5 separate regions of the Homo sapiens genome follow, and all the other regions are linked to region 1. Evidence: promoter capture Hi-C in 16 types of primary human blood cells and fetal thymus (Javierre and others, 2016). All regions are on one chromosome and are shown on one strand. Each heading gives the region's core, a stretch centred on a gene start or on the middle of the fragment in contact. The rest is flanking DNA. Distances are from core to core; before and after follow the strand shown.

Region 1 (2,700 bases), core at 72-2,571:
GTGCTTTGCTGTGACAGTGCCTTAACCCACAGGCGTGATTAACTCCAAAGTCTGGGGTCTTTGGAAAAGGTGCCTATCAATGCAGAGGAAGTGAAGTGCTCAGACCGCCAAACAAGGCCAAGAGCCTCCCGGAAGAGCCTGCCTGTCAGGAAGTCTCTGGCCACATGCTGTGGCCATGCTCGCCTCTATGAGAGGACAGAGAGAACAGACCAAGGACACGAGTTCAGAACAGAGAAAATGTGAGAGCCGTAGACAGGAAAAGCAGCCCTTCTGGAAACAGCACACTGGTGTACCTAGCGTAACCTTGTCCTGAGGGCCACTAACTGCCCCTCACTTGACTCAGCTGACACTGTGAGGGGTCACGAGCCTGGCAACACTTTCTGGAAGGTCTAAAGGGCAGCACTGAGGAGACCTAAAGGTTTTGGTCTGTTTGTCAAATGTCACTCTTCCTCACATTCGGAGGAGAGCATTTGAAGGCAGACCACTCTAGGGGCAAGAACAGGACTGATTTTAACCCCGGGACAACCAACCAAGCAAGCAAGCTAGTGAAGAACAGGCCTCTGCCCAGGTGAAACACGTGGGGCCAATTCCATAGGTTTTTTTTTTTTTTTTTTTTTTTTTAATTAACCTCCGGTGGGAAAGGTAAGGATGGTGGGGAGGGGAGACGGTTACTTGTCTCATTATCAATGTGTTAGTATTAGTGACGGCAAAACTGAATCTCTAGCAATACTATTTGCCCGTTTAAACTGGGCCTGGCTATTGGGCTTATGAGCAAATAGCTTCTCAAAATTTTAATTTTCTAGTTAGTTCATCCCAAGTCACTGATTTACATGTCTTTTGAGACTGAGACTGCTGGGGAAAAACATTCCCAGAAATGAGTGGATTAGACTCTGTGAATTACAAGGGAAAGACACTTTAAGTTTAAAGTTGTCCCAAACTTAGCGTCAAAATACAGCCTTTAGATTTTTTTTTCCATCGAGAAAAATTCCTGATTCACTACCAAAAAGAGGCCCTGCAGGCAGCGTGCTGATTTGTTCTGCTCCTGGTGCTGAGCTGCCCCCACCTGTGTGCAGGGAGGAGGGGTCGCTTCGGCCAAGGGCGGGAGCTCTGCTGGCTTTAGCGAGTCACCATTGCCTCCTCGCAGTCAGCGTCCTAACGGGGTCCCCGTCTACAGCCCGGCATCCACTCCTCCAAGGCCCTTCACACTGGCTCTAGCCATGACCCCTCTTTGGAGGAATAAAGCAGAGTTTCACGGACTCACCGACCTTGAAGCCGGAGCCTCCCACGTCCTGCTGAGCGCACACAGCCAAGAAGTGTATGCAGGGCGAGCTGGTCGGGCCGGCCTGGAAATCCTCCCTGGCGGGGCGGGGCCAGAGGACCTCACCAATCCCAGCGTAGACCTCCGGGCGCACCGGCCCCCACAGCTGTACCCTTGAAGGCAGGCCCGTGGGCGCTGGGCCCTTTATAGCACCTGCCCTTTCTCTGAAACGTAAAAGGCGGAGCCAGTCTTGCTTCCCAGGCCTGGTCCTGGAGGCTCCTTTGCCAGGGCTCTGGATCTCAGAATGGAAGGGCCAGCAGGTGAAATTGCACATCTGTTGGGGGATTTGTTTCTCTCTTCTCTCAGGTGTACCAGCCTTGGGGCCCTGGTGAGCTCTGGAGGATGAACCCCTCAAGCCAAGGTCGGAGAGGAGGATGTCTCAAGCTGCCTGGCTCCAGCAGCTGACCGGGCCCTGAGCCAGGGGCTGGAGGGACCTCCTTCCAGCGTCTTTGTCTGGGACCTGGATCCAGGGACAATTACAGTCAGGTTTCTGTTCAAGATCAGGCCCCCTGCAGTAGATGGCTAGATCATCTCGCTTTCTGTCCACACCAGCTTAACCCACGGCAGGCCATAGCCCTGCTTAAAAATAGCCCCGCTTGGGATATCCACCGCACGCCGGGAAGGCTGCCTGTAAATAGCAATGACCCAGCAGGATTTTGGACAGCAGCCCTGCCATTTCAAGGGAGCCTGCCTAGGCATCTGGTGACCGTCACGTACTCAGCTTCTGAGGCCACGTGGACATGACCAATTGGTTCCTGTCTCTTCCTTCTCAGAGCCCAGCTCATGCTCAGAGGACTTGATGGAGCAAGGGGTGGAGCCCCAGGAATAACCTTCTACCCAGTGTGGTTCTCCTTCATTCTCTGAAGGAGTTTCCATTTCTTTTAAACACGACCCATGTTTAAAAATATCATCTATTTTACCTTTGCATGGGGTACTGACAGGGAGAGCACGTGAGGGGGCCTTTTGGCGGGATGGGAAGTTTCCTGATTGGGGTGGTTATATAAAGATTGGGACCAATCAAATTAATTTCATAATCCTTTAAGGAGTCAAGACCCACCAGCTTGCATATTCTATCATCAGGGCAGTCTCGGTTTATTCCTTCTCAAAATAGCTCTTTTCCACACACACTTGTTTCAAGTCAGTTCAGGCACCAACTGAAATAAATCCATTGACCCTGAAATAGCCCAGCTCCCAGATCCAGAAAATTATAAGGCTTTTAAAGAGCATGGAATTGTAGATTTAAAGAATGGCAGTTATAGCAAAAACCTCCTTTTCCTCCCCAATTGCCTAATCAACATTTAGGGCCCCCTCCACTCACCCGACCTCAACACCTTATATTTTATAGAGTAAATGTTTATGTTAGTAAGGTCAGAAGAAAAATT
Region 2 (2,700 bases), core at 189-2,688, 550 kb after region 1:
TTTCACAGAAATGGAAAAAATTAGCCTAAAATGTATATGAGCAACGAAAGACTCAGAATAGCCAAATATATCCTAAGCAAAAAGGACAAAATTGGAGGTATCACATTACCTGACTTCAAATTATACTACAGAGCTATAGTAACCAAAATGGCATGGTACTGGCATAAAAACAGACACACAGACCACTGGAACAGAACAGAAAACCCAGAAATAAATCCATACATCTACAGTGAACTCATTTTTGACAATGGTGCCAAGAACATACACTGAGGAAAGAATCTTTTCAACAAATGGTGCTGGGAAAACTGGACATCCATATGCAGAACAATGAAACTAGACCCTATCTCTCACCATATACAAAAATCAAATCAAAAATGGATTAAAGACTTAAATCTAAAATGTCACACTATGAAATGACTAAAATAAAACATTGGGGAAACTCTCCAGAACACTGAACTGGGCAAAGATTTCTTAATAGGGCAACCAAAGCAAAGATGGACAAATGGGATCACATGAAGTTAAAAAGCTTCTGCACAGCAACAGAAACAATCAACAAAGTGAAGAGACAACCCATGGAATGGAAGAAAATGTATGTAGACCACCCATGTGACAAGGGATTAATAACCACAATATATAAGGAGCTCAAACAACTCTACAGGAAAAATCTAATTATCCAATTTAAAAATAGACAAATTGAATAGACATTTCTCAAAAGAAGACATACAATGGCAGCCTGGTATGTGAAAAGCTCTCAACACCATCGTTCATTACAGAAATCCAAATCAAAACTACAATGAGATACCATCTCACCTCAGTTAAAATGGCTTTTATCCAAAGACATGCAATAATAAATGCTGGTGAGGATGTGGAGAAAAGGGAACCCTCACAGACTGTTGGTGGGAATGTAAATTAGTACAACCACTATGGAGAGTAGTTTGAAAAAAAACTACCAAAAAACTAAAAATAGAACTACCACATGATCCAGCAATCCCACTGCTAGATATATACTCAAAAGAAGGGAAATCAGTATATAGAAGAGATATGTGCACTCCCATGTTTACTACAGCACTATTCACAAGAGCTAAGATTTGCGAGCACCCAGGTGTCTGTCAGCAGACAAATGGGTAAAGAAAATGTAGTACATATATACAATGGAGTAGCATTCTGCCATGAAAAGGAATGAGATCCTGTCATTTGCAACAACATGGATGGAACTGGAGGTCATTATTTTACATGAAATAAGCCAGGCACAGAAAGATAAACTTTGCATGTTCTCACCTACTTGTGGGAGCTAAAAATTAAAACAACTGAACTCATGGAGATAGAGAGTAGAAAGATGGCTACCAGAGGCTGAGAAGGGAACTGGGGATGGTTAATGGGTACAAAAAAAATAGAAAGAATAAGACCTAGCATTTGATAGTGCAACAGAATGACTACAGTCAAAAATCATTTAATTGTACATTTTAAAATAACTAAAAGAGTATAATTGGGTTGTTTGTAACACAAAGGATAAATGCTTGAGGAGATGGATACCCCATTTACCCTGATGTAATTATTATGCATTGTATGCCTGTATGAAAGTATCTCATGTAACCCATAAATATATACATCTATTATGTACCTACAAAAAACTTTAGCCATGCCTGGCTAATTTTTGTATTTTTAGTAGAGATGGGGTTTCACCATGTTGGTCAGGCTGGTCTCGAACTCCTGATCTTGTGATCCGCCTGACTTGGCCTCCCAAACTGCTGGGATTACAAGCATAAGCCACTGCGCCCAGCCACAGAAAATTTAATTAAAATATAAAAAAAAAAACTTCCTCTTACAGAGAGCCTTCTACAGCAGGTACTATTTCAGGCGCTTTACCTATATTAACTTATTTAATCCTCACAACAACCCCATGAGGTAAGCACTCTTAATACCCCCAATATAAAGGACACTGAAGGACAATACAGTAGATAACTTACTCAAAGTCACTAAAGGGAAGAGCTAGTTTTCCAACTCAAACCCTGAGTCACAAGAGTCCACACTGTTTGACCCCTGCTAACTTTTGAATTTCCTCTACTTCATTCTGTCCATAGATATAAATTAGCTGTAGGAACTCCACAGAAATGCAGATTTAACTTTTGACTTCGCTTAGTCCAATATGCAAATAAAGTGAAAATGATCAAAGGATACAAAAAAAAGTGCAAAGATTGAAAAATTACACACGGTCAGTAAACATAGAGAAAATTATTTACAATGCTAACTAGAGAAATTCAAATTAAAATAAGACAAAAGCAGGCATTAAATTTGGTAAAACCCACATAAGACACCTAAATTATCTTTGATATGCCAAATTCAAGCTTTTAAATCTCATGTGATGAACAAACATTTAGGAATATCACCAGTCAATGAATGCTGCTTGACAAACAAAAATTCACTTTTGACAATGTCATTATGAAATATTTTGATATTTTATTGAATTTCGCCATTGTTATTTTATAAAATTAAGCAGAAAACAAAAAAATGAATGTGTTGATAAAATTGATTGACTTTACTCAATCTAAATTAATAAAATATATACTAAGTTAATAAAATATATACTAAGTTAATAAAATATAAAGAAAAATGAACTAAATCAAAGACAGGAAATCATAATTTATCCATTTATCATAATTTATCATAATTTATCCATTCCATTTCTATATTCATTTTTTC
Region 3 (2,700 bases), core at 172-2,671, 570 kb after region 1:
GCCACATTGCAGCAACAAGAAGGAGAGAAGACAGGAGAGAAGAGCTGTGGACCTCTGGGGAGCTCAGACCTAGGGGCTCCTAAGCCAGGTCTATGACACCCTCTCTGGGGCTCTGCAGTTCCTGGAATCTCCAAGCTTCTGGGCGCCACTGTGTTCCCTGGTGCCAGCTGTGGAAGCTGTTTGTGGTACGCCTGGTCCAGCCCTCACTCACGCTGGCACCTGGAGCTGCCCACCCTGCCGAAGCCAGCATGCCTGGCAGTGCACAGGGGCCAGACCCCATGGTCACCTGCTCACACACCCCTCACCCTCACCACTCCACTCCTGGCTCACCCTTGGCAGCTGCGAGATTCAGGCCAAAAGCAAAAGCCAAGCACAGCCTGCCAGGCCGAGTGGGAGGAATGAGCCCAGCAGGCCCAAGTAAAAACTCGGGCAAAGGCACCACCAGCCACAGAGGTTTACAGCTGGCGAAGCAACACCCCAAGGATTGCATAACAATTTTCCTATACCTAAGAATGCCTTTGCTTTTAATTTTGATGAGTTTCCTATTTTGTTTCCATGACTTTTATGTCATGGAATATAGTATGTATTCTATATTAAATGCAGGTATATACTATGTAGTATAAAAGTTAATCAACACAGAAAATATATTTCTTACATTGTAAAAACTTATTCTTACTTTATACTTTATTCTTTTAGGAAATGAGATAAGCTTCCAGGAAAAAAAAGTTTTATCCTTATGGGATGCTAACAATTAAATCAATCTAAATACTTGAATATTAAGCAACTTTTTTTTAACTTTCATTTTAAGTTCAGGGGTACATGTGCAGGTTTGTTATATAGGAAAACTTGTGTCATGAGGGTTTGTTGTACATATTAATACCTGGGTAACAAAATAAGCAACTTTAAAAAAAATGATTTGGATAGAAATACTCATCAGATACATTACATTCTATTTCATATTCCCAGAGACAGTATGCTGAACTCAATTTAACCTTGTCTGGACAATTCAGAGTGATCAGAATATATTTCGAAACCTATTGAGAGTTATGGCATTGCTGACCCCACCCTAATGGTCCTGGACCATGGGGCATTTATGTTCACTCAGTAGCTTTTTGCCATTCATCCACGTCTATCCATGCCATCAAACAGCTTATCACCTGTAATAATGGCACTGCTTCTACGTGCCCCCTCTGTCTACTTACTTCTAATTTCCTGTGATGTGGACATGCCAAGTTGGTCATTCTATGTATAAAGCAATAATGTATACGCTCTTCTGAGACCTTGGAGTAAATGCTCCTATCAATAAAGTGAGCTTTAATGGATAAACTTTATGACTTCTATGCTTAATAACCACTATACTTAGGTGAACTGCTTCTAAGTATTAAAAGAGACTAAAAACAAAAACACCTTTTTTTTCTTGATGATCTAAGATAAGTCAATCAATATTAGCCTGGCTGAGGGAGGAGTTCATGGATCTGGGCTTTGTGGGAAAGGTGTGAAATCTTGAAAATTATAGGCAAAATTTTGTTGGCTTGAGAATTTTTCTGAAGAAAAAGGCCAACAGCTTTCATTAGAATTTCAATGACTCATATATATACATACACACATACATATACATATATAGAACCATTTCTCTAATTCAATGGTTGTCAATCACAGCTACAGATTAAAATGACTGCTTTTCCTTTAGTCTCACCTCATCTGCAGGCTAAGGTGGGAGGATTGCTTGAGACCAGAAGTTTGAGACTACAGTGAACTATAATCGCACAACTGTACTCTAGCCTGGACAACAGAGCAAGACTCCATCAATAAAAATAAAATACAAAATAAAATGTAAACTTTTAAAAAATATCCATGCCCATTTGTCAGTGAAAACCAATTAGATAAGATTCTGAGGGAAGGTTCTTAATGGCAATTTTTGTTTGAAGTTCTCCAGGTGATTCCAATGTAAAGCTAAGGTTGCGAACCAATCACTATTCTGAATTACAGATTTCAATGATGGAGCATGAGTTAAATTCCCTGATTCTGCAGTTATGAAAACCATTAAAAGTCTCAAAACAAATAGTGGATAAAGTAAAAAGCCCATGTTCATTTGGCTTACATTTGAATTTACTTTCTATCTATCAAGCTTTCAACTGAAACCTCAAAATATCTAAGTTGCCCATCATGATTTTCCACGGTAATCATGGAAACTCTAAGGAAGACTGTAAGAAACTGTGCTTGTATTAATTCTCAATAAAGAATCCCTCCAAGTCAAGGGCTCCTGATCCAGGCAATACCTCAGAATTACCTGGAAGGCTTTTGTTTTGTTCCCATACAAACCAATTAATCCCTCCCAAAACACAGTAAATCGAATCTCCAGGGATGTAAGAAAACTAAACTAAAACACAAAAGCTCCCTCAGATGATTCAGAAGACCATCCAAGTTTAGGAACCATTGCCATGAATGACCTCAGAGAACCTGACAGTACTTCAGAACCCACTATTCTAGGTAACTGGATACTCATCTATAGCAGTTACATACCTTTTGATTAATTTGACGTTTCGAATCTTCAGAAGAAACTGCATTCTTTGCGTGTAGAAGACTGATATCATCAAAATCAGTACATTTTGGCAGAACTGCAAATCTCTCCTGCAGAGATTCTGTCTGGACTCTACTTTGAGGAAGGGCAGAATCGCAGCAGAATTCTTTCAATTTTTC
Region 4 (2,700 bases), core at 48-2,547, 980 kb before region 1:
TTATAACCTTCCTTATGCAGCTGTTTTTTTGTTTGGTTTTGTTTTGTTTTAATTTAGAGACAAGGTCTGGATCTGTTGCCCAGGCTAGAGTGCAATGGTACAATCTCAGCTCACCACAGCCTTGACCTCCTGGGGTCAAGCGAGCCTCCTACCTCAGCCTCCCGAGTAGCTAGAACCACAGGTGCACACTACCACACCCAGTTAATTTTTTTTTTTTTTTTTGGTAGAGAGGGGGTCTTGTTATATTGCCCAGGCTGGCCTCAAATTCCTGGGCTCAAGCAGTCTTCCTGCCTCAGCCTCCCAAAGTGCTGGGTACAGGTGTGAGCCACCACACATGGCCAGCTGTTTTGAGAATTAAATGAGACAATGCATGTAAAGCATGTTGCCTGTGTAAACTGCTGCCAATCAATATTATGCCCTATATGTGTATGTATATGGGTGTGTGTGTGTATATATATGCATATATATTCTACAATTTGTCACAAAAGATTCATGTGGCAAAAAATAGCTTCTGACACATACACATATATATGACAGGATATATAAGGGATAAGATTGCATTTATACCTTATAAGAATTATAAGGTAATATAATATATAAGCACATAGTAAATGTAATATTACTATGTAATAAAAGTAGTAAATGAACTAATGCACATAAATAGCACAGTGTTTAGTAAATAACAAATGCTTAACAATGTTCGTTGTGGTCATCATCACCATCACCACCATTATTTCTCCCATTTTATATAGGAGGACACTGAATTTCCAAGGGAGTTAGGTAACTTACCCAAGGCCAAACAGCTAGTAAGAGGCTGGGCTGAGACTGATGTCTGTTTGATTGCAAAACTCATGATCTTCCCAATTTTACTATAGGCCTAAGCATTCTTACAGAGTGGTTAAGTATTCTGCTTCTATAAAACAGGTTTCAAGTAAAAAGAGAAGATAGTTGTTGCTACCATCGTCATTTTTTTTTTTTGAGACTGAGTCTCACTCTGTCACCCAGGCTGGAGTGCAGTAGCGCAATCTCGGCTCACTGCAACCTCCACCTCCCGGGTTCAAGTGATTCTCCTGCCTCAGCCTCCTAAGTAGCTGGGACTACAGGCACGCACCACTACACCCAGCTGATTTTTGTATTTTTAGTAGAGATGGGGTTTCACCATATTGTCCAGGCTGGTCTTGAACTCCTGACCTCATGATCCACCCACCTCGGCCTCCCAAAGTGCTGGGATTACAGGCATGAGCCACTGCGCCTGGCCTGTTGCTACCATCTTCATTCTTATAGCTGTGGACTCAAATAAATCTAATGAAACTCCTAATAGCATGAGTTTTATTGGTTTGGCATATTACAATAATCTATTGCTAGTGTAAGACATTTCCTGGTCATAAGGCAAGTATCTAGAAGTGGCTTTTGCTGAAGTGTTGCCAGTCTGTCATTGATCTCCCATTCTATTCATACCTAATTAGCATGCTTGAAGTCTCACAAGTTGCTCAGGTGGCTTACTTGATTCTGGTATTTTAAAACAATACTATTATTGTGGATGTGATGCATAATTTTACCATATCAGAACATCAAAATCCATTCATTAAAGAATCTATCAAAGTCTGGATGTAAGTTAATAATATATGTCTCTTCTCTGGTCTGGGTATGAAAAAGGAAAGTTACTTGAAAATAAGAGGGTAGAAGATTTATTTTTAGACCAGGATATACTTAGCTAATAGTCTTAAGCCAGGGTGGCTCCAGGCCAGAGCGAAATTCACTAAGTTGAATCTCTTTTTGTTGCCCTTCCTTTTTACTCTGAAGCAGACAAGGTAATAAGCAGTGGGGACATATCTAGGATCTACAGAATATTTCTGCAGTTTCTATTTTCTAAATCATCAAGCTGTTCTTTAGTTTTATAGAGCAGTTTTTCAATTGTTGAGGATCTTTCTGCAGAAAGGCAATTTGATTTCTATCCTTGGCTCTTCGATTATACATTCTATCATCACTAAACATTGATTAAGCCTGCTGCAATACACTCCCTTGTATTTGGGTCTTTGAATTCTCAGAAGGTCATTATTTATTACAATGTAACAAATTGGATTTTTTTTTTTTTTTGAGATGGAGTTTCGCTCTTGTTGCCCAGGCTGGAGTGCAGTGGGGCGATCTCAGCTCACTGCAACCTTCACCTCCCAGGTTCAAGCTATTCTGCCTCAGCCTCCCGAGTAGCTGGGATTATAGGCGCCTGCCACCATGCCCAGCTAATTTTTTGTATTTTTAGTAGAGAATGGGGTTTCACCATGTTGGCCAGGCTGGTCTCGAACTCCCGACCTCAGGTGATCCACCTGCCTCAACCTCCCAAAGTGCTGGGATTACAGGTGTGAGCCACCGTGTCTGGCCTGGAAATATTTTTAAAATATGGTCAATGCAGGTGCTGTATTTATCAGTGTTAGCCTTTGTTTCAGGACAAAATGAGCTGATGTTTCTTAACAAACATGACATTTAATTCAAGTGTTTTTTAAAGATATATAAAAATTAATTTTTTCTTTCTGAGAATATCACCATTGAAAAAACTCAAGGTCTGGTAGGCAGCTTTCTAAAACGGTTCAATAATTCCCTTGTGTCCCCTTGCGTATGGGCTGGATCTACTGTCTTGCTTCTAACAAATAGAATATGGCTAAAGTGATGGGAAGCCACTTCCATTACTAGGTTACAAAAGGT
Region 5 (2,700 bases), core at 109-2,608, 530 kb after region 1:
AATGCACAAAGAAGCTCTCATTCTTTAAATAAACTCATGGCAAATGTTCTTATAAAATAACTATCACCTATTAACTTATCATGTTTTAAAATCTGGATTTTCATGAGTTAAGCACATCCATTAAAATTGCTAGCTAGATATACAAAAAGTATCAGGACTAAAAAAAAAACCTACTGAAAATACAATGGCATTACCACCAGGGAAGAAATTAATGTAATTTTTAAAAAGAAATTTCAAAATGACAGATTTTTTAATACTAATAACACTTCCTCTTTAAATGGTTTCCCAGTGGCAAACATTTTCCTACAGCATATGAGATTTATTTCTTCCATTTAGTCACTACCATCTCTACTACCAGAATTGATTTGTTCTGTCGCCCAGACTGGAGTGCAGTGGGGAGATCTCGACTCACTGCAACCTCTGCCTCCCAGGTTCGAACAATTCTCCTGCCTCAGCCTCCTGAGAAGGTGGGATTACAGGCACGTGCCATCATGCCCAGCTAATTTTTTGTATTTTTAGTAGAGATGAGGTTTCACCATGTTGGCCAGGCTGACCTTGAACTCCGGACCTCAAGTGATCCACCCGCCTCAGCCTCCCAAAGTGCTCGGATTTTAGGCATGAGCCACCCTGCCAGGCCCACAATTTATTTTCTAATTCTAGATTATCTAAATAGTTAAGTGAAACTACCGTCTAATAAACATAATGAAACAGAATGACAAAGTAGTCAACTTTATATTTATCTTCTGCTCTCGAAAAGAGGAATGAGGAAAATGGGGAAGACAAAATATAAAGAAAAAAAGAGATTTCCTACGAATACCACAACAGAAAAGGTTTCAAGCGCCAGAGGGGAGGCTAGTGCCTAGTTATCATCAATATCAATCTTTAAACAGTAACTTAGCCATGTAGATCCCATTAATATTTGCTGTAAAGGAATATCTATGGAAATGTCAGGATGCTTCAATCAATTTACAGTGATATTAAAAAATTTTTTAAAGAAATAAACATAATGGGGAAAAAACGATAAGAAATCAATATGATCTTTCCAAAAGAGTAAATGAATTGGCTACATCTGTATAATGTAAATCTATATAATGTAAATAGACATTGATTACCATATATGTTAATGTATAGATTTCCAGCTACTCCAACAACCTTTTTTTTTTTTTTTTTTTTTTTGGAGACAGTGTTGTACTCTGTTGCCCAGGCTGGAGTGCAGTGGTGCAATCTTGAATCACTGCAACCTCCACCTCCCGGGTTCAAGCCATTCTCCTGCCTCAGCCTCCCAAGTAGCTAGGATTACAGGTGCTGACACCACACCCAACTAATTTTTGTACCTTTAGTAGAGGTGGGGTTTCACCATGTTGGCCAGGCTGGTCTGGAACTCCTGACCTCAGGTGATCCACCCATCTCGTCCTCCCATAGTGCTGGGATTACAGGTATGAGCCACCACGCCCAGCCTTACAACAACCCTTCTATGTTTAAAAAACCCAAATCAGTTTTGTTAAGAAAAACAAATAGGAGATACCCATTATTCTCTTTATTCTAAACATCACTTATTTAATCATTCATTTACCAAGCATTTATTAAGCACCTATTATGTGTGAGCTACTTTGATAGGTGCTGGGTACACAAAGGGTCACTAGGCTACGGTCCCCATCACCAGCCATCTCAGCTCAGTCTCTGTCACAGGAAACTCTTTATCCAGGCCCTGTGTAATGCCGCTTTCTCACTCCACCGTTTCACTCTTGATTCTCTTTTTATTTTTTATTTATTTGTATATTTTTATTATACTTTAAGTTCTAGGGTACATGTGCACAACGTGCAGGTTTGTTACATATGTATACATGTGCCATGTTGGTATGCTGCACCCATTAACTTGTCATTTACATTAGGTATATCTCCTAATGCTATCCGTCCCCCCCACCACCCCACAACAGGCCCCCCGGTGTGTGAGGTTCCCCTTCCTGTGTCCAAGTGTTCTCATTGTTCAATTCCCACCTATGAGTGAGAACATGCGGTGTTTGGTTTTTTGTCCTTGCGACAGTTTGCTGAGAATGATGGTTTCCAGCTTTATACACCCTTTCTCTCCAAAACACGTCTGTCCTGCCTCAGGTTGCCTGCTCATGCTGGCAGAGTAACCCAGCCAAACTAGTTTCTGCTTCCTAAGAAAAGCACGCTCTCTCACACCTCCACCTGACTGGCATTCATTCTTCCAGTCTCAATTCTAACACACCCCTCTAGCAAACTAGCATGATGCTCAAGGGCTGCCAGTAACTCTAAGATATTTTCAACCAGCGCTTTCATTACAATTATTTCCATGACTACCTCCCCTCTAGACTATAAGAACTTGGAAAGGAGGGATCTTTCTCATTTCTGTATCCTTGCCACCTAGTAACAAAGCTGGCGCACAGCAGCCACTCAATAACTGTGTTTAAGGATGAATAAATGAATGACTGTATAATAATGTTCAACTTAGAAGATGTATCAACAACTTGAGAATCTACTGGAAACATCCATCAAAATGCAGATTTTGGCCAGGCGCAATGGTCCACGCTTGTAATTCCAACATTTTGGGGAGGCCAAGGTGGGTGGATTGCTTGAGCCCAGGAGTTTAAAACCAGTATAGAAGACATAGAGAGGCCTCATCTCTACAAAAAAAATTAGCTGGGTGTGGTTGAGCACACCTGCAGTCCCAGCTAC

The links. Contacts are between HindIII fragments. The CHiCAGO score rates a contact against its expected background, and 5 or more counts as called.
Region 2: a contact is called between a fragment that was not itself captured here and the fragment with the promoter of CKMT2 in region 1, in 4 of 17 cell types (endothelial precursors, megakaryocytes, total CD8 T cells and 1 more). The highest score is 5.9, in endothelial precursors.
Region 3: a contact is called between a fragment that was not itself captured here and the fragment with the promoter of CKMT2 in region 1, in 1 of 17 cell types (total CD8 T cells). The highest score is 5.1, in total CD8 T cells.
Region 4: a fragment that was not itself captured here is called in contact with the fragment with the promoter of CKMT2 in region 1 in 1 of 17 cell types (neutrophils); the score reaches 5.4 in neutrophils.
Region 5: a contact is called between a fragment that was not itself captured here and the fragment with the promoter of CKMT2 in region 1, in 3 of 17 cell types (total CD4 T cells, M1 macrophages and endothelial precursors). The highest score is 5.9, in total CD4 T cells.

What each region holds. Positions count from the first base shown.
Region 1 is chr5:81,231,943-81,234,642 of GRCh38, reverse strand. CKMT2 (creatine kinase, mitochondrial 2) reads right to left here and starts at 1,321. Exons shown (of 10, transcript NM_001099735.2): 1 at 1,266-1,321. The HindIII fragment of the contact is 4,095 bases long and covers 1-2,700 here.
Region 2 is chr5:80,681,520-80,684,219 of GRCh38, reverse strand. All of the region lies in intron 8 of MSH3 (mutS homolog 3), which reads right to left. Among named protein-coding and RNA genes, the nearest start is that of DHFR, 28 kb to the right of the region's middle. The HindIII fragment of the contact is 1,819 bases long and covers 529-2,347 here.
Region 3 is chr5:80,665,187-80,667,886 of GRCh38, reverse strand. MSH3 (mutS homolog 3) reads right to left here. Exons shown (of 24, transcript NM_002439.5): 3 at 2,524-2,700. Among named protein-coding and RNA genes, the nearest start is that of DHFR, 12 kb to the right of the region's middle. RefSeq lists an enhancer at 1-296. The HindIII fragment of the contact is 1,419 bases long and covers 712-2,130 here.
Region 4 is chr5:82,215,333-82,218,032 of GRCh38, reverse strand. The region is part of intron 5 of ATG10 (autophagy related 10); the gene reads right to left. Among named protein-coding and RNA genes, the nearest start is that of RPS23, 62 kb to the left of the region's middle. The HindIII fragment of the contact is 4,691 bases long and covers 1-2,700 here.
Region 5 is chr5:80,698,035-80,700,734 of GRCh38, reverse strand. The region is part of intron 8 of MSH3 (mutS homolog 3); the gene reads right to left. Among named protein-coding and RNA genes, the nearest start is that of DHFR, 44 kb to the right of the region's middle. The HindIII fragment of the contact is 4,490 bases long and covers 1-2,700 here.